Regions from separate parts of the Homo sapiens genome. Here regions 1, 3, 4, 5, 6 and 7 are each linked to region 2. The links are contacts of gene promoters, found by promoter capture Hi-C in blood cells and fetal thymus (Javierre and others, 2016). All regions are on one chromosome and are shown on one strand. The core of a region is centred on a gene start or on the middle of the fragment in contact, and the rest is flanking DNA. Distances in the headings are between cores, read along the strand shown.

Region 1 (2,898 bases), core at 121-2,620, 1.6 Mb before region 2:
TAATTAAATTAAGGATCTGAGACACAGAGATTTTCCTGGCTTATATGAGTGGGCCCAGTGAAATCACAAAGGTCTTTATAAAAGACATGCAGAAGGGCCAGAATGAGAGGAAGAGGGTAGTGAAGAGATGCGGTGAGACAGACAGAGAGAGGGAGATCTGAAATGTCACGTTGCTGGCTTTGAAGACGGAGGAAGAGGCCATGAGCCAAAGAAGGCAGGTGGCCTCTAGAAGCTGGAAAAGGCAAGGCAGTGAGTTCTCCCCAACAGCCTCCAGAAAGAATGCTAAGGAATTCTGACCTCCAGAACTGCAAAATAATTAATTTATGTTACTTTAAGTCACTAAATTTGTGATAATGTGTTACAAAAACAATAGAAAACTAATATAGGGAGTTTACAACCTAGTAAAAGAGATGAAGGCTGGGCGCGGTGGCTCACGCCTGTAATCCCAGCACTTTGGGAGGCCAGGCAGGCGGATCATGAGGTCAGGAGATCGAGACCATCCTGCCTAACATGGTGAAACCCCGTCTCTACTAAAAATACAAAAAATTAGCCGGGCGTAGTGGCGGGCGCCTGTAGTCCCACCTTTACTCGGGAGGCTGAGGCAGGAGAATGGCGTGAACCCGGGAGGCAGACCTTGCGGTGAGCCGAGATTGTGCCACTGCACTCCAGCCTGGATGACAGAGCGAGACTCCGTCTCAAAAAAAAAAAGAGATAAGACAAGCAGCTTTGATATAATTCAGAAAGTGATAAATATAAAATAGAAATACAAAGAAATTGCTGTGGAAATACTGATAAAGGGAGTACTTCTGGTTGTAGAGATTAGGGAAGCTTCCAGGAGGTGGCTGTTTTGTAGAGCTCTGATGATTGGTAGGATTTCAAAAGAGGGAGATCCAAGAAACAGCAGGAATGAAGGCCCAGAGTTGAAAGGTGTAGATTAAACAAAAAGCTGACCTAGGCCCTTGACCAGCCATTTTCTCAGGAATAAAAATTACTTGATGGACATTTCACATAGTCTCCTTAAGATATAATAGGTCACTAAGTCTGTTTTTAAAAAGCTGTAATAATAGTCAATACAGGATAAACTGTCCTAAGAGTTTAGGATAGATCTTGGGAAGAAATCCCCTTTCAACCCAGAGCATGCCGTAGCTAAGGGTGAACCTGGCTCATTTTCAGACAAGCAGGCTAGTCAGGGATTAACCAAAAAACAAGAGGGGTCAATCAGAATAACAAGGTGATTCTTTCCAAAGGTATCTATTAACATTTACAAATTAGACATTTCCTACAACCCGTGCAAGCAAGCTAAACCAAACGATGGAATCCAACTGAATGTTCTTGGCAGATGGAGGCTCTGAGGACTCACACTGAGGATGATGGAGAGGACATTACAATCCAGTCCCTTTTTGGTAGGTTTTGATTGTTTTGTTTGGCTGAAGTCAGAACCCATGATCTTAAGGAATTTTGAATGGCTCTAATTGAGCGTGGATTTGGTCATGAGACAATTATCCTGATAAAACAATTTTTTAAGGCACTCTGTTTGAGGGTTTGGGAAAAAAGAAATGGAATTATCCAGATTGTTTATCTGCATCACCCAAACTCACTATTGATCATTCTCTTGGCATTGCTTATGGAGCCAATGTCTTCCCAAGGTCATACCTATGCTCAGGTGCCTATGCAATACTTGCTTTTTTCTTTATCTTCTGGTAGAATTTATTCTTTTTTGTACTGTTCATATTCATCCCAGGAAAATTTGGAGGAACAGCTGCTCTCCACTGGCCTGCTCCTGCAAGAATGCCCTGGAGCTTCTGAAGAAGGATCTATATTTACCTTATAGGGCCTTAAGTCCTGGGATGGAACTATATACTTTGGGAACCAACTTTCTTCACAAGAAGAACTGGGCATGTTGCAAGCTTCCTCATTTCTCTTGCTCTCTGGCTTTTTGTCCAAGCTCAGAAACATAACCTCAGACTGGCTGCATTCAAAAGGAGTTTTCTGAGTCATTCTGTCTATCCTCAGGCCTTCATCAGAAGGTAGTAAATTGTTATTCTGGCTTTCATCATCTTCCACTGGAATACTTGGTACATTCTCCAGGAATAGAGGAGAAGGACACCTGAAGGACTTTAGTGATGTGGGAGGATCTTCAGCAAAATACAAGCTGGCTTGAGTACTTTCAAGAGTATTTAAAACCTAATAACAAAGAAGCAAACAGACATTAAATTAAGTTTGAATAATCTTTCCTTTTACCTTTTATCACTCTACCTATAAAGAATATTCTTTCATTTTCATGAAATTAGTTCAGCTATAGAATTTTGAATTAGAAGGGATCTTAAAGATTAGCTAACGCCCTTTATTTTGAGGAGTAAATTAAGTGACTTAAAACCAGGTATAAAAGAAACTACACTAAAGTAAATACCAAGAGACCTGACTTAAGCCTCAGATTTGCCACCAACTAGCTTTGTGAACTTGGGCAAGTCTCTACATTTTTTACTTCAACCATAATATGTGGAAGATTGGAAGGGAATAAGGAAATGGTGGGCCCAACCTGTAATTCTTAAATGCCAGTTTTTTGTTGTTGTTCTTGTTTTGTTTGTTTGTTTGTTTTGTTTTTTTTTGAGATGGAGTCTCACTCTGTTGCCCAGGCTGTGGCGCAGTGGGATAATCTCGGCTAACTGCAACCTACGCCTCCCAGGTTCAGGCAATCCTCCTGCCTTAGCCTCCCAAGTAGCTGGTATTACAGGCACGTGCCACCATGCCCAGCTAATTTTTGTATTTTTAGTAGAGATGGGGTTTCGCCATGTTGGCCAGGCTGGTTTCAAACTCCTGACCTCAGCTGATCCACCCACCTCAGACTCTCAAAGTGCTGGGATTACAGTCGTGAGCCAGGGCCCCTGACTAAATGCC
Region 2 (2,721 bases), core at 64-2,563:
CCCTGACAGATTGCACCCTCCCACATCCACCAAAAGAAGTTATCATCCGGCCCCTGAACGATTCTTCTTGCTTCTAGTCTCTAGGTCTCAGTCCGGTATTAATAGAAATGTTTGGCGAACGCCTGTTTTCTAAAAGCAACAAATTTGTGCCATTACAATCTTCTGTAATCTGATGTGAGCGTGGCCGGGTTGGCCCGGCTCCCCTGGTGCGGCTCCTAGTGCCAGGAGGCCGCGGGCTCTAGCACCGGGCTCCTCAGTCCAGCCGACGTGCCCCGTTTCGGGAAGGCCTCCCAAAAAACACGGCTACAGCTGGCGAAACTGGCACAAGTTCCCTTCCCATCTTTTCCCAACTCGTGCTTCCCACGGCATGCTGCCTCCAAAAAAGGAAGAAACCGGCGAAAAGGTTAGCTGTCGCTGGCTAGTATTTAGCATAGGAGCTTGTTTGCAAAACATCTGGGCACCAAAAAACCTAGCTTTACAGAAAACGCACAACCCTGAGTCCCGCAACGGAGATTTAGTGAGAGCCTATGGTGGCGAGGCCCACGGTGCCCTTGGACCCCCACTCCACCAGGTCGCCCGGGCCAGGAAGAGGGGAGGTCAGGTCACCCGGCCACCCCTAGCTATTACACGTTGACCCAAGCCACTCTGGGGGCCACAGATGAGTAAGCTGACTAACAGGAAGGACAGGCGCGCGAACCCGACCGTCGACCCAGCGGGGACGCGAAGGGGAAACCTGGGGGAGTGGCCCGGGGACGCCTGCTGGCTCCGGGGCTGCTCCCCGCAGGCGGCAGCCCGAGGCGGAGCTGCAGAGGCCATCTGGCGCGGAAGGCAGAAGCCGGCCCTCAGCCTCCCCGCCCTTCCTCCGCCTTCCCTCGCCTACACGCACAAGCTCCAGGCACGTTCCCGGGACCCGAAAAGGCAGAAGCCACTTCTCGGCCCGCTCCTCCTTCCCGGCGAGCATCCCCCGAGCGCCCCGCAGAGACACGTGGAGGCAGGGGGCGCGGGCTGGCGGGTTCCCCGGAACTCTGGGGCGCGGGCTGCAGCGCCCGCCGCGCGCCACTCACTTGTTGGCCGGAGCGGGGCTTGCCCTGGGGCGCTCTCCTGAAGAAGGAGGTCCTGGCGGTGAAGAAGAAGTCCTCGGCGTCCTCCTCCAGGCTGCTGTAGCCGCTGCTCATGCTGCCGGTCCCGTCGCGCGCGGGCGGCCTCCCCGGGGCGCAGGCGGCCAGGGAGGGGGTGCGGCGCCCGCCAGCCCCGCGAGGTTCCCGGCGCGCAGCCCCGGGCAGTCCTTATGCAGCTGCGGCCGCCGCTCAATCAGGCTCTCCCGGCCCCTCCTGCCGCCTCCCCGCCAGGCTCCAGGCGCGGCTCGGCCCCGGTGCGCCCGCGACCCCGCCTCCCTGGGCCCCGCCCCGGACGGGCGACCGGCCGAGCCCCACCCCGCGCGGCCGCGACCCTCCCCGCCCGCCCGCAGGTGGGGGGAGCCCGGCCCGCCCCTTCCAGGCGCGCGGGTTTCTCCCGACAGCGTCGCGGAACCCGGAAAGCCGGGCGCTAGGGCTGCGTCTGCTGGGGCTGTGCTCGGGTCGCTTCCTCAACCTCCCGGAAACTGCAAATTCCTCTGCGAGCCGTCCGCCCGCCCCCAGCCTCGCTGGCTCGAGTTTCGGAGAGGGCGGGAGCAGAGCGGGGAACTTTCTCTGCGTCCACTCCCTGCTCGCCCCCGCACCAGGGTCCTGTAGGGGTGGGTGGGGGTTGCCCGGCCGAGGGACCCCCCAGGTCCCACGGCTTCCTGCAGCCGCAACGCCCAGTCCTGAACCCCAGCAGCTCGCCCCTCCAGGAGGATTTCAAGTTGGCAGAGATGGGTGGGGAGGTCAAAAACTGGGTTGAGTTTATTCGAATGAAAACATCCTTTCTGGTCATTCATTTGAGCTTCGGTCTTACCCTTTTCCCCTTCTTTCTAGCGAGGGCTCACTTCCAAATAAGATCGTTATCTTAGGCGCACTCAGTGCAACTGAAAGGTGAACTAGTTCTATAGTTACAGAACAATCGAGTGCTTATCAATTAAATGTGCTTTGTAAATGTCCCCGCCACAATCAGCCTTCCACGGTCACCCACAAGGCATGGTTTAAGTGGTGGGGATAAGGAGATCAGGGAATTCCATCCATCCACGTACAAAAAAAGTTTCCATGTTTTCTAAAACTCTTCAGTCAGCTAATCCTCTTAAAGCCACCAGTGGGTAACAGTCTTTTACACCTTGGTGTTACTGCACTGATTTAAATAATACTAATTTCAAGATCTTGACTGAAAGGTTTTTTTGAAGCTGCAAGCCCTGCTATAGTTAGCGAGCTTCAGAAGAGGTTTCATTAGGAGGGGAAGAGAGACGTTAGAAAAGAGAAAATGTCCATCCATCATAGCCAAACTAGCCAAACTCTCTTACATTATCTCCTTCAATCCTCCGAGCAACTCTGCAAGGTACGTAGTGCTATTTTATGCCGGTTTTACACCTAGAGCAGCAGCTGAGGCTTAAAGAAAGGAAAGTGGCTGTAGGAGGCAGTACTCGGACCGTTCTGCTTTGCGTTCTGTTGATCTGAACGTGGTCACATACCCTACTGGGTTCTCTGCTTGGTATCGGTCAGCCGTGCTCTTTTGTGGACTACAGGAGGAAGAGTTGGACCCGAAATGACGGGAAGGAGAGAAGAATTGACTCATGAGTCATCCTACTGTCCCTAG
Region 3 (2,803 bases), core at 192-2,691, 1.6 Mb before region 2:
GATACTCAGTATTTTTTTTTCCTACATACTGACTGTTTCTTCTGTTTTCTTAACTAGCTCTTCTTCTGGCCTGTATAATGTACCCATAGGCTGAATTTGTTGATCTTCTTATTTTGTCTTAGAGGTTTCATATAATCTCATTCTTCATCTATCAATCTCTAAGTCAACTACTTTGATATTTGTGTCATCAGCCCTAACCTGCCCTGCAGATTCTCTTCTCACCTCCTGCATTTATTGAAAAATTTCATTTGGATTTCTTGCTTTCATCTCAAATCATCATGTCCCAAACTGATTGTTTCCTAGAAAATCAACTTCCTTGTTTCTGGTCACATGGGCCAAGGTAACTCTGAGTAATTTTGACTGACTGATTAATACTATCTTCAGAAGGATTTACTGAGCACCTCGTAGTAGGTACCTATATCTAATAAGTCACCAAATCTTGTTCTTCTGTAGTATTTCTGATATGTGTCTGGGTCTTTTCCAATTTGTTTGTTACTTCATGTTTGAGGTTTTGCAGTATCTCTTACCTGGTGAACCCCTACTTATCCTTTATTACTCAATTGAAAAGCCACCATTTCTGTGTTGCAGGTTGAATTGTTTACCCCCAAAATGTACGTTTAAGTCCTAACCCTGAGTACCTCTGAATGTGACCTTAATTGGAAATAGGGATGCTGCAAATGCAATCAAGTTAAGACAAGCTCATATTGGATTAGGGTAGCCCCTAATTCAATGACTAGTGACTTTATAAGAAGAGAGAAATTTGGACTTGGAGACACAGAGGAGGAAAAGGCCATGTAACAACTGAGGAAGAGATGGGAATGATGCAGCCACAGCCAAGGAACTCCAAAGATTGCTGGCAACCACCAGAAGCTGGGAGAGGTGTGGAACGGATTCTTCCTCAGAGCCTTTAGAAGGAATAAACCATACACAGACATCTTGATTTCAAACTCTGGCTTCCAGAACCGTGAGAGAAGAAACTTCTGTTGTTTCAAGTCACTCTTTGTGGTAACTGGTTACAGCAGCCCTAGGTAACTGAAACACTTTATAATCTCCATGAAATCATTTATAATCTCCCCAGAGTTAATCATTTCTTCTAGGTTCCATAACATTCAGTACTACTTTCCATCAGAACTCTTTTTTTGGTATTGTTTTCCTGTGGGCTTGTGGAGCATTGGTGTGTAGCAGAGGAGTCAGTCATCTCTGTGTACCTTGCATGCTGCTTGGCACAGAGTAACTTCCCAATAAATGTCTAATCAATGAAAGAAGTGATGACCTTGCCTTCAGCCAATAATAATTACAACTATCATTTAGTGAGCACTCACCGTTTGCTAGGCACCGTGTTACTACTTTACACGCTATGTTCTGACAACAATTCTCCAACACCAACTGGGTGTCCTGCAATTCATCCCAATTCTAACACTACTGACAGATTCCACAAGTTAAGGACAAGGTCCATAATTTCTAACACTAACTACCCAGAGTTAATGCAGACCCCACAAGTAAAGGTCTCAGTCCCATGAATCAGCCCCCACTTCAGATGCCAGCTACAAGACTCAGGTATCTCTAAGCTATCTGCATCTCTGCCTAGCTAAATACAAATTTGAGAGTCCCCATGATTCCCTCCAAGTTGGATAACTCACCAGAACAATTCACGGGATTCCAGAAAGTGCTATGCTTATTATTACCATTTTATTATAAAGGACACAAATGAACAGCAAGATAAAGAGATAGGGCTGCAAGGTCTGAAAGGGCACCCAGGATGCAGCTTCCATGCCCTTTCCAGATGCTCCACCCTCCCAGAACATCAATGTGTTCTAGTTTATTTGGCTGTAAATGCCCTTGCTCTTTTTAAGTAATCCACGAGCCTTACAAATCTCCACTACTCTGGCCACTAAAGTTGAGCTGTAAATAAAATTTTAAAGATAAAACAATTTTAAAGATAATTGCAACTCACATCTCCAGGACCTTTAATGTTGAATGTAGGTTAATATCCAAAAGCCAAAAACAAAAACGTTTTGTGTTGTCTGGCAATCCAGAAATAAGGACAGAATCATAGTTTGAGAATAGTCCAGAAGATGTTTTAGCTTGGGGTTTGAGAGCAAACACAAATGAAAAGGAGGTGAGAATGATGAAGAGATGGTTAGAGGGAAGAGGAAGCATGCAGATAGGTCTTTAAAAATCAATAAAATTTCCTTTGGATTAGTGATGTTATTTACAAAGCACTTTCCTTGAAATTGCAGCTTTAAAAGAAATAGAGAAGCATTAGATTACTGAGTTATTGGATTTCATGTCTATAAGTAAATGCTTTATTTTCATAAGATAGCTTTCTTATCTAAACTGAGAGGGAGCAAATACTTTTTCACTTTTTTACGACAATTTTTAAAATTTAAGTATAATATACAAATTTAAGTATAAAATATACACAAATCCTAAGTATAAACAGCTTGCCTCATTATCAAGAAGTGAAAGTTATGTAATCAGCCAGGAAACAGAACATTACTGAAATCCTGGAATTCCTTCTAAGTACCTCCTCCTGATGATTATGCCTTCCTCCTCCCCAAAGATAAACAGTTTCCTGATATGTAAGACCATAGATTACTTTTGTTTGCTTTTCAGCTTTACATTATTCTTTATACTATTCTATATATTCTTTGCATTTGATTTCTTTTGCTTAGCATTATGTTTGTAAGCTACATCCATGAACATGTCAATTTGTTCATTTTAATTGTATAAAGTATGTGATTATATGAATATAATTTATTCATTTTTTCCAATAGTGGACAATTTGAGTTGTTTCTAGATT
Region 4 (2,723 bases), core at 30-2,529, 1.6 Mb before region 2:
GATTCAGCTGGAATATGAATGAACAGATGCCAAATGAGCTGGGGTTTTAGGGTCTCTAACATTGACCGGGGCATATAGTTCTGAGTTTGCATCACATCTAAGGAAAGCTAGATTAGACAAAGGCATTTTTTCTAATAGCAGAAGTTCATGGTAAAAAACTGATCCAGACTGTTAAAATGAATACTGCCTGCATGCATGGATTGCTTCCGGACTGGAAATGAAATATGTTTTCTCTTTTTCCAACTGGTGATTCACACTGCAACCTTAATAGCTTTTCTCTAATGATGATGCATTCTGAATAGAAACATTGCTAAAGAGTATTTTTAGCATCCATAAAATGTATACTTCATTTAGATCCAATTCTATAAAATAGCTCCAATCTGATACAACAGGAATGCAAACTCTCAACATGTTAATTACATTCTTCAATATTTATCATTTTCTTCAACTCTCCCTTACGTGTCCCCTTTCAGAATATAGGACTTTGTTTACTCGCAGTACATATCAAATAAAAATACAGAGAAAAGTTCTCAATGACTAATTATGTTGATAAAGTTAAAAGCATTCTAAACTGAAAATACAAATTAAGAAAAACATGCTGTTAGTTAAGCATTGTTTAAAACCATTTTTTGGAACACAAATCTTTGTTGAAAGTCGTATTGGAGTCACATAAGCCAAAAAGTCAACCTAAGAAGTTCAGAAATCAGATGCTCAAAAGTCCTTGAAGGCTGTTTTGAGAGTGCAGGACTGACTGTTTTCAGTTGCAGAAATCACGTCTCCATATGCAAATATGTCTCTGAAGGGGTTTTTTCAAATAATGCAACACATCCGTATTTGGAATCTTTGTATTTGCATACAACCACATGCCAAAACCCCTGCAAAATTAAGACTCCATTCTCACAAAGCTTGTTTTTAGACACTGTAAGGGAAAAAGGAAAGATGTCTCTTTCTTTCTACAAAGCATGCAAAAAATTAGACAATTTTTTAAAAGAACTTTTAAGGTTAAAGACATTTTTAATTCCAAAAGAGTAAAACAAAAGTCAAAATTATAAGTTAGATCTATTCTTCATACCAGACTGTTAGCATTAACACTTACTAGTTAATATATTTTATAAGAAATAGTTCTTATTCATACTTAAGCTCATGTGTATGTTTTACCCCATGCCTGAGTAGGACTCATAACTGCGGAGGGCTGTGTGTGACTTCTCAGGTGCCCCTCTGTCTGTCCTGCTCTCTTAATCCTAGACACAGGTAGGAACCTAACATTAACTACCTCTGGGAGATAATTCACCCTCAACACCAAGGTTTCAGTCAGAAGCTATGTAATTTCATTCCCAGGTGAATATCAATACTATTTCCCCACACATTCTTCCCTTGTTAAACTTTTATAGGTCTGTTGCCTACACTAAATTGGAAAATTCTTACAAGCAGGGACTAGGACATTGTATTTACAGTGCTTTATCAAAGATTCTGCCCAACAAGGTTTTTAATAGACAACCCAACAAGGTTTTTAATAGACATTTGTTGATTCATTAATTTATTCAGAATGTACATATTTACTGAGTGCCTGCTCTGTGCCAAGTACAATTTTCGATGCTAAGAGAGTCAGCAGGAAACAAAGGAAGGAAATATCCCTGCTCCCTTGAAGCTTATTTCTAGATGAAGAATAAACAAATAAACATATATATGTTTACATATATATATAGTTTATTTTATATATACATAGAGATACTTACATACATAAAGTATGTGAGAGGTGATAAATGATATAGAGAAAAATAAAGTGGAAAAGAGGCATAAGAGAGTGGTGGGGGGGGGTGTCAATTTTAAAAGAGTGGCCATGGCCAGGTGTGGTGGCTCACACCTGTAATCCCAGCACTTTGGGAGGCCGAGGTGGGTGGATCACCTAAGGCCAGAAGTTCGAGACCAGCCTGGCCCACATAGTTAAACCCCGTCTCTACTAAAAATACAAAAAATTAGCCTGGTTTTGTGGTAGGCGCCTGTAATCCCACTCGGGATGCTGAGGCAGGAGAATCTCTTGAACCCGGGAGGTAGAGGTTGCAGAGAGCCAAGATTGCACCATTGCACTCCAGGCTGTGCAACAAAAGCGAAACTCCGTCTTAAAAAAACAAAACAAAACAAAAGAGTGGTCAGAGTAGGTAATAGTTAAACAAAAACATGAAGGAAGTGAAGAAGCAAGCCTACAGGTTACTGGCAGGAAGAACGTTCCTTGCGTGTTCAAGGAACAAGGAGGCTAATGTGGTTGGAGTCAAGCAAACAAGAGGGAGAAGAAAGTGAGAAAAGCCACACAGGACTTCAGGGTTTGCTCTGACTGGCCTGGGAAGCCGCCAGAGGGTTCTGAATAGGGCAATGATAGCATATGCTTTACAGGCATCACAGGCTTGCCGACTGCTGGGCTGAAAAGACACTCAAGGAGGTCAAGGGCAGTAGCAGGGAGTCTGAGCCCAGTCAGCCAACTGCTAAAATAGTAGAGGTGGGAACCGATGGTGGTTGGTGCCAAGATGGTTACGGTGGCAGTGGTAAGAAATGGTCAGATTATTAGACAGATCCTGAAGGCACAGTCAGCAGCATTATTTACTGAGAGATAGGATGTGGTTTGTGAGAGAAAGTGACAAGTCACAAAAGGCTAATATTTTTGGCCTGAACAAATGAAGAATGGAACTGCCATTACTGAGATGGGAAAACTTTGGGAGGGCTGGGGG
Region 5 (2,992 bases), core at 42-2,541, 1.7 Mb before region 2:
GAAAGAAAAGAAAAGAAAAGAAAAGAAAAAGGAAAAAGAAAAAGAAAAAGAATTGCTTTCCTAAATACATTTTCTGGAAGCTCCTTTCCTAACAAACATGCCATGGTTGAGGTGAGCACTAAAACAAAAATGCATCAACTCTGCTACCACAGAGAGATGGAGCTGGGGATCAGTTTCTAGCTGATCATGTTGGTCTTTGTTAGGCATTTTATGAAAACTATTTATCTCATCCTATATGATAAGTATAACTTTTTAAAAAGCAAACATTTGCAAAGTATTACTAAGAAGTAGATGACTACAATTCATTTATTCAGTCAATACATATTTTAGGATAGTTACTGTTCTGGGTACTGGAGAATAACAGTAAACAAAACAGACCAAGTCCTTGTACATCCTAAGAAGGAGCAAGGATCCATCCTAAGAAGGAGCAAGGATCCATCCTAAGAAGGAGCCAGGGAGCAAGTAAAAGTAATATCAAATGATGATGAGAACCAGAAGCAAAGATAAAAGAGAGAAAGGGGATAGAGAGTGCTATGGTTTGAATATTTGTCTCTTGCAAAATTCATGTTGAGGGCCAGGCGGCATGGCTCACGCTTGTAATCCCAGCACTTTGAGAGGCTGAGATGGGCAGATCACTTGAGATCAGGAGTTCCAGATCAGCCTGGCCAACATGGTGAAACCCCATCTCTACTAAAAATACAAAAAGTTAGCCAGGCGTGGTGGCACACACCTATAATCCCAGCTATGGAGAGGCTGAAGCTCGAGAATTGCTTGAACCCAGGAGGCGGAAGTTGCAGTGAGGCAAGATAGCGCCACTGCACTCTAGCGTGGGTGACAGAACAACACTCTATCTCAAGAAAAAAAAAATTCATGTTGAAACTTAATCCCCAATGTGGCAGCACTGAGAGGTGAGGAGGGTCATGAGGTATATTCATTTCATATCATTTAAGAGGTGATTGGGTCATGAGGTATCTTCCCTCGTGAATAGATTAATCCACTCATGGATTAATGGGTCAATGGATTAATGGGTTATCATGGGAGTGGGACTGGTGGACCTTGAGAGCTTGTTTGGAGGTTCTAGCAGGGGAGCGCAGTTGCCCGTATACCCTTGACCGAAGACCAGTCCTCTTCTATCAGGGATGGTAATCCTCTTTCACCGAGCACAGCTTTGGGAGGGACACACATGGAGTGGTGAGGGAGGAAGGGGACAACCGCCTAGCTGGCCAGATCAGCCAAGTCAACTCGGGCTATCAATGGGGTGGCAGATGTCACAGACAGATCACCCTCACATCCAGGACTGGTAGCTTTATGAGAAGAAGAGAGACCTGAACTAACATGTTCAGTCCCCTCACCATGTGATGCCGCCTGTTGCTCCACCAGCAAGAAGGCTTTCACCAGATATGTTCTCTCTACCTCAGACTTTCCAGCCTCCATAACTCTAAGTTATAAACAAATTCCTTTTCTTTATAAATTATCCAGTTTTAAGTATTCTGTTACAAGCAGCAAAAAATGAACTAACACAGAGCATGACTGTAGTGAGGTTTTGCTATTTCAGATAGAATGATGGATTGAAACCAAGGTAGAGATATTAAAAATTGACAATGAGATATTGTGTTGTATGGGCTATGGAATGAATTATTGAATAGAAGGAATGCAAATCAGGGAACATGTGAAAAGTGCTATGCTTATGCAATCTATAATCATCAATAGATGAAGACTGACTTTCTGGAATAGAAATATATTTGAGCATTCCACAGAGTCACTCTTGTTGCAAAAGATAAACTACATTCAGATCAGCAGGTCTGTTTTCCTGATTTATTTTAAATGGCTGGAAATTTCCTCCATTTGTGACAAGATTTCATATACAACATCCACTTCTGGCCAAGAAGGGAGAAAATCATCCTGCATTGGAGAAAAGTGAGATATGAAGAACTAGGTTGGAATAATGATGAGCAAAAAGGGAAAGAATGACTGAAAGGGAGACAGGAAGGAGAATGTGGAAAGATAATGTGATGAAGATATGGACAGCAGATGCAGGGGAGTTTCAAAAGAGTTGGAAAATTCTCCTTTAAAAAACAAAGCCATAATGCAGTAATAACTCGTGTTACACAATGCAGAATTCATTAAAGAATGCAAAATCTCTGAGATTTTATTTTTGATGTAAGAAAACATAGGCTGTGAGTGGTGGCTCATGCTGTAATCCCAGCACTTTGGGAGGCCAAGGCGGGTGGATCACCTGAGGTTAGGAGTCTGAGACCAGCCTGGCCAACATGGTGAAACCCATTCTCTACTAAAAATACAAAAAATTAGCCGGGCGTGGTGGCAGGCACCTATAATCCCAGCTGCTCGGGAGGCTGAGGCAGGAGAATTGTTTGAATCTGGGAGGCTGACGTTGCAGTTAGCGGAGATGGTGCCACTGCACTCCAGCCTACGTGACAGAGCAAGACTCTGTTTTTGTTTTTGTTTTTTTTCTGAAAACAAACAAACAAAAAAACCCCAGAATTTGGAGAGTACAAAGACAATGCTTTCACACTCAGAAAACAGAACAATTTTATATATTTAACTTCCTCCCTTAATTATAAACAACAACAATTATAATGGCTAATACTGAGTGTTTACATTGTGCTTTCCACACATCACAAAGTCCTCTCCTTCAATTAACTCATTTACTCTTCACAAAAGCCTCATGAAATAGTTAACATTAAAGCATCTATCTTACTTATGAGGAAACTTCTGCTGAGAGGTTAGATAACTTGCTTAAAGTTGGGAGTGGCTGAACCATGACTTGAACCTAAGAAGTCAGGCTCCAGTGACCGTGCTCTTTGCTGCTACATGTTCAGGCACAGCTCTGTGTTCTAAATATCTCTGCATGCACCCAGGAACCAACCTGGGGCTGTGAGGAGGCATACACTGCAGCATAGTATCAATCTCCTTGATTTGTTGCCTCTCTTTTGTTTGAGATTTGTAAAACAGATACACACTTCTCTGGGAC
Region 6 (2,803 bases), core at 63-2,562, 1.6 Mb before region 2:
TTAGCTTTCCGGCCTTTTTTTTTTTCCGAGACGGAGTCTCGCTCTGTCGCCCAGGCTGGAGTGCAGTGGTGCGATCTCGGCTCACTGCAAGCTCCGCCTCCCGGGTTCACGCCATTCTCCTGCCTCAGCCTCCCAAGTAGCTGGGACTACAGGCGCCCGCCACTATGCCCGGCTAATTTCTTGTATTTTTAGTAGAGACGGGGTTTCACCGTGTTAGCCAGGATGGTCTCGATCTGCTGACCTCGTGATCCGCCTGCCTCGTCCTCCCAAAGTGCTGGGATTACAGGCGTGAGCCACCGCGCCCGGCCTGTCTTTCTTTCAATGCAGTGTGAAGTGTCTTATCCTTTTCTATGAATTCCAATTTGCCTTAACTCTTTTGATGCTGTAGCTGTTTCAGTAAAAGTTAGTTCAAACTAATGATGTAGAATGCTTTGACCAGATGAGCTGGTCTATTATGCCTTGTAAAACAGCAGCATAGGGCTTTTAAAAGGTAGTCAATAAAAGTTGCTGAAATTTTGGCTTTTTAAAAATAATAATAATAATAATAATAATAATATCAAAGGGTTAGGATAAAGTCTTTTGTGACTCATCACTCTGAAGCCCAAATACAGAAAAGAAAATAAAGGTAACAGCATCTTCCATTGTTCACTCCTCCAATAAAAACAGAGCCCTGAATTACTCTGGGAAAAGGCCACTGTTTAACACAGATTTTGAGATGTCCTTTTCTCAGCCAATTATCAAAGCCGTACAATAAAACTGCATCCCTCCTAGAAGCTATCTTCCCTTACATAGATTTAGAAAATTAATATGACAAAGGCAAAACAGGCAGGGATTTGGACAGCTCAGTCCTAAAAGCACTGAGCTACACACAGAGGGACCAACACTCAGGGAGGCCTAGGTTTAGAGCACAGTGGAGGATTCATTTAAAAGAGATTCAGGAGGGTAATCTAGGTCAGCCAATCACATCTGGCCGAGGCTGCTGGGGACTGACTGTCATTACCATCTGACAGGTGTTCAGTGGCCCAAATGAACTGAGTTAGTTTCATTCCAGCTTCTAGAGAACAGGTGTGCATATCACCAAACACGAGGGGGAAATCTACTGTTATAGTTGGCACTAATTAACATCTTTGCTGGCAGGCTCAGCAGAAAGGCCAAAAGTTCAATGGCCGTGGAAGGGACTGATTTGCTTTGGAACAGGCAGGGACACATTGATGAGCCCTTGTGAAACCACAGTTCTCAAACAAATGCCCACAGCCATGGATCTCCATACCCTGACACATGCCTGGGTGGGCACATTCTATGGATGGGTTACATTGAAGTCCTTGAACTCTTTGGAACACTCAGAAAGGCAACAATTGTCAGCAGCCCCACCACCAAGTAAAATATAAAATACATTGCTAGATGCATTTCAAGCCTTGTCTCTTCCATAATATTCTTGTTTCTGATCAGATCTCTCTGGGTACTCTGTATCTTTGTTACCTGTTGGGCATTCTGTCTAGCAGTGTTGCTTAAATGATTTTTATAGTTCTGCACATCCAGACAAGTTCCTGGGATAGTGACCTGGAAGAACTGGCCTCCTCTTAAGTTGTGAGACCACCTAAGAGACTCTAGAACCTTTCAGTTTCCACCTATATCCTAGACAAGCTGCAGACTTTCACTAGAGCCCAGCTTGTCAAACCTAGTTCCTCAGCCTAGTCAGAATCCAAAGCTGCATTCCATCCCCTGCTCACCACAGTCCTCATTCTTCTGTAGTCTCACCTTATCTTATTCTCCAACCTTGTCCTTTCTTTTCCAACCAACTGATTTCTCTTGCTTTTACTATATACGTGGCAATTCTTTACTCTGTTCCTTTGAACAAATTATTGCCTCCACCAGGAATATTCTCTCCGCTTCTTTCAACCAATCCACTGCAATGACCCACTTTTTCCAAGACTTGGCTTGGAACTCTCTAACGAGAGGAAGCCTTCTCAGACCAACCACTCAGTGGGCATAGTTACCATTGCACTACACATTTTGTGTTTGTGTTATCTTTCTGATCACCAGGTTGAACCTTCAAGGACAAGACTATTATCATCACTGTCTCTCCCCCTGTGGTCTAACACAATGCTCTGCACACAACAGATGTTCTATAAATATTTGTGAAGTAAGATGAATGGGATTGTCAAGATATTTAATAAACACTTTTTTTTTTTAAAGTAGAGAATGGGGTTTCACCATGTTGGCCAAGCTGGTCTTGAACTCCTGGCTTCACGTAATTGGCCCACTTTGGCCTCCCAAAGTGCTGGGATTATGGATGTGAGCCACCACACCTGGCCAGTAAACATATTAACAGAGAAGTAATTTTTCTTAAACTAGAGCTTAGTCAGTGGGTCCACTTTTCAAACACTATAAATTGACGATAGAGGTAAGAGTGTTAAGTAAAAAGACTGATTGGCCACCACACTACTTGGCCTCTGTCACTGTGCCACTCCCACCACTTCTCAACCAGTCAGGATAGGAATTACCACTGAAGATGTGTGTGCTCTTTGTCAAGGACCTTATGCCATTTAACCCTAGGAGATAGAAGCTATTATTCTACTACTAACATTTTGCAGAGAGGAAGATTGAGGCTTAGAGACATTAAGCAATTTGCTCAGAATCGCATTTTAAGTGGAAGGTCTCTCTGATTTAAACATTAGGGGACACTGAGCTAAGAGAAAAGGATGGGAGGAGGGTGGGGAGCAAACATGTGAAAAAGAAAAATCTTCGAGTCACATTTTTCAGAACTCTGTCCTGTCAAATCTTCCTTCATAGCTGTGGTGGC
Region 7 (2,952 bases), core at 286-2,785, 1.7 Mb before region 2:
TCAAGCAACAAAACATTTTGTAAAAAAGAGTAAAAACCAGATATACATTTTGGTACAATGACTAACATAGACTCAGTATTCAAAGGTCCCATTATATCTAGAGATTTTAATACAGTCACATCGATTAATGATAGGGATATGTTTTGAGAAAAGCATCATTTGGCAATGTTCATCGTCGTGTGAATAGCATAGAGTGTACTTACACAAACCTGGATGGTATAGCCTACTATACATCTAGGCTATATAGTACAGCCTATTGCTCCTAGGCTACAAACCTGCACAGCATGCTACTGTACCAAGTGCTGTACCCAACTGTAACACAATGGTAAGTATTTGTGTGTATGTAAACATATTTAAACATAGAAAAGGTACAGTAAAATTATAGTTTTATAATCTTATGGCACCACTGTCATAGATGTGCTCTGTTGTTGACCAAACATTATGTGGCGCATGACTGTATTAAAAAAAAGTCATGAAATAATAATGATTGTGATTTTCATATGTGTGGATTATGGAGAAACCAAATGTCTGAGCTGACAGAGGATAACTCCAAAGGCTTATGCAAAGACGAAGGGAAGAGAAGGGTTCTTTTCTATTTAAGGGAAGTAAGATGCCATGGGTGCCTCTAGGATTCATCTAGGAGTGAAATACCACATTCAATTATTTTGCCTTCAGCTTTCTCCCACAAAAATTAGGGGATATTTCTTCCCCAATTCTCCCTTGCACGTAAATGAACTTATTTCCAAATCTCCATTCCCCTTGGGCTTATTCTAGTCCTTAAGCTTAATACAATTTTAATTCATATACATACTTTTAAAATCAGGAAACCTCATCCATTTTTAAATTTCAATAATAACTTATACTGGACCAGTAATGAAAAACATTAACTTTGCTTTTCTAACTGTAGGGCAAAAGGTTTATAGTTGAAGGATGGAAGAGTTTTGCTAAAAGGTGTAGTTAATGTATTGTACTAAATCATTCTAATTCAAAGGCCATTTTTTAAATTTCTAATACAACAGACAGAAAATGCAAACTCTTAGTAATATTATACCTTGTAGCATTGTCCACAATGAGCTGAGATTCTGCTCTATGGTTTGTCTTTAGCTCAATAGCACAATTTCTTGACTTAAGAGTCTCAAAAAGATCTTTCAGCAAGTTACCAGGTTCAATACTGGGTAACTGTCTAATGTCACCTAAAAGAAAAAAAGATACAGTAGCAAGACTTACTCTGAGAAAAAATACCCCCAAGATTGTTTAAAATTATTTAACAGTTTAAAGTTAAATACCTTACAAAAAACAACATTTAAACAGTAAAAGATATAAAAATAGTAATAACACAATAAGGTGACAAAATCTAAATAGAACATCTTTCATACCTATAACCACAGGGAAACTGGGTACAGGCATATGTTTTAGTCAACATATTAGGGGAAAAAAAAAACAGGCCTTAGACATTTGTAGTTAGTCCCTTTTTCAATCATGTTCAATGTCTTACTGAAAGTGGAAGAATCTACAGCCTCAAATAGATAAAATAAGTGTACAAAATATAAAACAAATAAATAAATGCATTTGATAACAGATACGTTCCAGTAATCTAATAGTGATGTTCTGCTCTATTAAAAATATTTTTTGCATGCAACAAATAAGCCCTAAATATAAGAAAAACATGTACTGGGGGAAGCAGAGAGAAGGCTTAAGCCATTAATACAATCAACTGCTTAAAAGACATCCTCAAATACCTAAAAAAATAATAATTTTTATATACAACTTGATTCTCCAATTGTGATTTTATTTTTTTCTCCATTAAATCATATGGTCTACAGAGCATGACTACCCAAGAGAATCTAACTGAATCTTATCAGAATTGGAAGGACTTAAGAGGCTGGTGAGGTCTGATTTATTAGCTTAGCATTATGAAATTACTTTTAAGTGGCCTATAATTCAAACTTTTTATCATTTCCAAATGATTCACATCCTGATTTACTCTGAATCTGTGGCACTTTTACTATTTTAATAGCCATCATTTAGGTGATTAGCAGTAGCCCTTAACAACCCTATTTCATTCACATCCCAGCCAGCTAATATCCTGGCCAAAACAAAACAACCCAAGCTGATTAGGAGAGTGGTCAGATTTAATTTCATGTAGCTTTGGTATCTTCGTGTAGCTTTGGTATCAATTCTGGTGTAAACAACCAACTAAATGGTGTAAACAACCAACTAACCACAATACTTTGAAATAAACATCAGAATTCCAACAATATTTTAACTTACCAAGGATAATAAGCTTAGAAAGTTTGGAGTGCTCACACAATAAATTTAAGACCGATTTGAAGATTCCTACAGATACCAAACTCCCTTCATCCACAACCAGAACTCTAACCGAAGAAAATTTCCATGGTTTGTTTGTGGTCATCATTGTTTGAGTCCATGAATAGAAGCTATAATTGACCTACAAGCAAAGTATGGCATTCCTAAAGTCAGGTTATAAAATCTACAAAACCAAAAATTAATAGCAAGTTATTTTGGGGCAAAACTCGTAAATTGGCAGGGGTGGGTGGGAAGTAAAGAAACACAAAAGTTATAGGGTTGAATATGCAGAACAGACAGACCAAATAAATCTAAAAACAAACAAACAAAAAATCAGATTGTTCCAAAATCTCAACACTTCCCTCATCGTTCTTAAACACAGAAAGCTCCCTATTCTTTTCCATTCCCAAATAAACCTTCTCGTGGCCATCTGAGATATGCCACTGAAGCTCTTCCCTTCTCCCAACCATAGTACTCCATTCTGGAATAAAAGCAGCGCTTTCTCAACCGAATTATGAAAATACTACTTTTTCTTTCAAGTACTCCAAACTTCCTCACCTCAAAACTTTTTAAAAACTACCACCGCACCACCCCCAACAACAAATAAACAACAAAATTCTTTATTACAAATGTAATACTATTTAT

Evidence for each region. The method cuts DNA at HindIII sites, captures the fragments that hold promoters and counts their contacts. A CHiCAGO score of 5 or more calls a contact.
Region 1: a fragment that was not itself captured here is called in contact with the fragment with the promoter of RASSF3 in region 2 in 1 of 17 cell types (neutrophils); the score reaches 5.1 in neutrophils.
Region 3: a fragment that was not itself captured here is called in contact with the fragment with the promoter of RASSF3 in region 2 in 1 of 17 cell types (monocytes); the score reaches 7.1 in monocytes.
Region 4: a fragment that was not itself captured here is called in contact with the fragment with the promoter of RASSF3 in region 2 in 3 of 17 cell types (total B cells, monocytes and neutrophils); the score reaches 10.5 in total B cells.
Region 5: a contact is called between a fragment that was not itself captured here and the fragment with the promoter of RASSF3 in region 2, in 4 of 17 cell types (non-activated CD4 T cells, total CD4 T cells, naive CD8 T cells and 1 more). The highest score is 8.5, in non-activated CD4 T cells.
Region 6: a fragment that was not itself captured here is called in contact with the fragment with the promoter of RASSF3 in region 2 in 1 of 17 cell types (neutrophils); the score reaches 5.7 in neutrophils.
Region 7: a contact is called between a fragment that was not itself captured here and the fragment with the promoter of RASSF3 in region 2, in 1 of 17 cell types (non-activated CD4 T cells). The highest score is 8.8, in non-activated CD4 T cells.

The regions. Positions count from the first base shown.
Region 1 is chr12:66,246,981-66,249,878 of GRCh38, reverse strand. It overlaps IRAK3 (interleukin 1 receptor associated kinase 3), which reads right to left. Exons shown (of 12, transcript NM_007199.3): 12 at 1-2,184. The coding sequence ends at 1,708. Among named protein-coding and RNA genes, the nearest start is that of MIR6502, 2.7 kb to the left of the region's middle. The HindIII fragment of the contact is 1,079 bases long and covers 831-1,909 here.
Region 2 is chr12:64,609,087-64,611,807 of GRCh38, reverse strand. RASSF3 (Ras association domain family member 3) reads right to left here and starts at 1,313. Exons shown (of 5, transcript NM_178169.4): 1 at 1,065-1,313. The coding sequence starts at 1,175. It overlaps RASSF3-DT (RASSF3 divergent transcript), which reads left to right and starts at 2,342. Exons shown (of 2, transcript NR_187549.1): 1 at 2,342-2,463. RefSeq lists silencers at 784-853, 1,064-1,583, 1,744-1,813 and an enhancer at 2,444-2,503. The HindIII fragment of the contact is 11,544 bases long and covers 1-2,721 here.
Region 3 is chr12:66,176,444-66,179,246 of GRCh38, reverse strand. No RefSeq gene overlaps it. Among named protein-coding and RNA genes, the nearest start is that of TMBIM4, 7.8 kb to the right of the region's middle. The HindIII fragment of the contact is 3,272 bases long and covers 1-2,803 here.
Region 4 is chr12:66,195,076-66,197,798 of GRCh38, reverse strand. All of the region lies in intron 1 of IRAK3 (interleukin 1 receptor associated kinase 3), which reads right to left. Among named protein-coding and RNA genes, the nearest start is that of IRAK3, 7.2 kb to the right of the region's middle. The HindIII fragment of the contact is 743 bases long and covers 908-1,650 here.
Region 5 is chr12:66,290,984-66,293,975 of GRCh38, reverse strand. It overlaps the pseudogene RN7SKP166. Among named protein-coding and RNA genes, the nearest start is that of HELB, 10 kb to the left of the region's middle. The HindIII fragment of the contact is 9,012 bases long and covers 1-2,992 here.
Region 6 is chr12:66,230,742-66,233,544 of GRCh38, reverse strand. The region is part of intron 8 of IRAK3 (interleukin 1 receptor associated kinase 3); the gene reads right to left. It also overlaps the pseudogene RBMS1P1. Among named protein-coding and RNA genes, the nearest start is that of MIR6502, 19 kb to the left of the region's middle. The HindIII fragment of the contact is 7,657 bases long and covers 1-2,803 here.
Region 7 is chr12:66,313,483-66,316,434 of GRCh38, reverse strand. It overlaps HELB (DNA helicase B), which reads right to left. Exons shown (of 13, transcript NM_001370285.1): 5 at 2,272-2,449; 6 at 1,052-1,193. Among named protein-coding and RNA genes, the nearest start is that of HELB, 12 kb to the right of the region's middle. The HindIII fragment of the contact is 1,502 bases long and covers 785-2,286 here.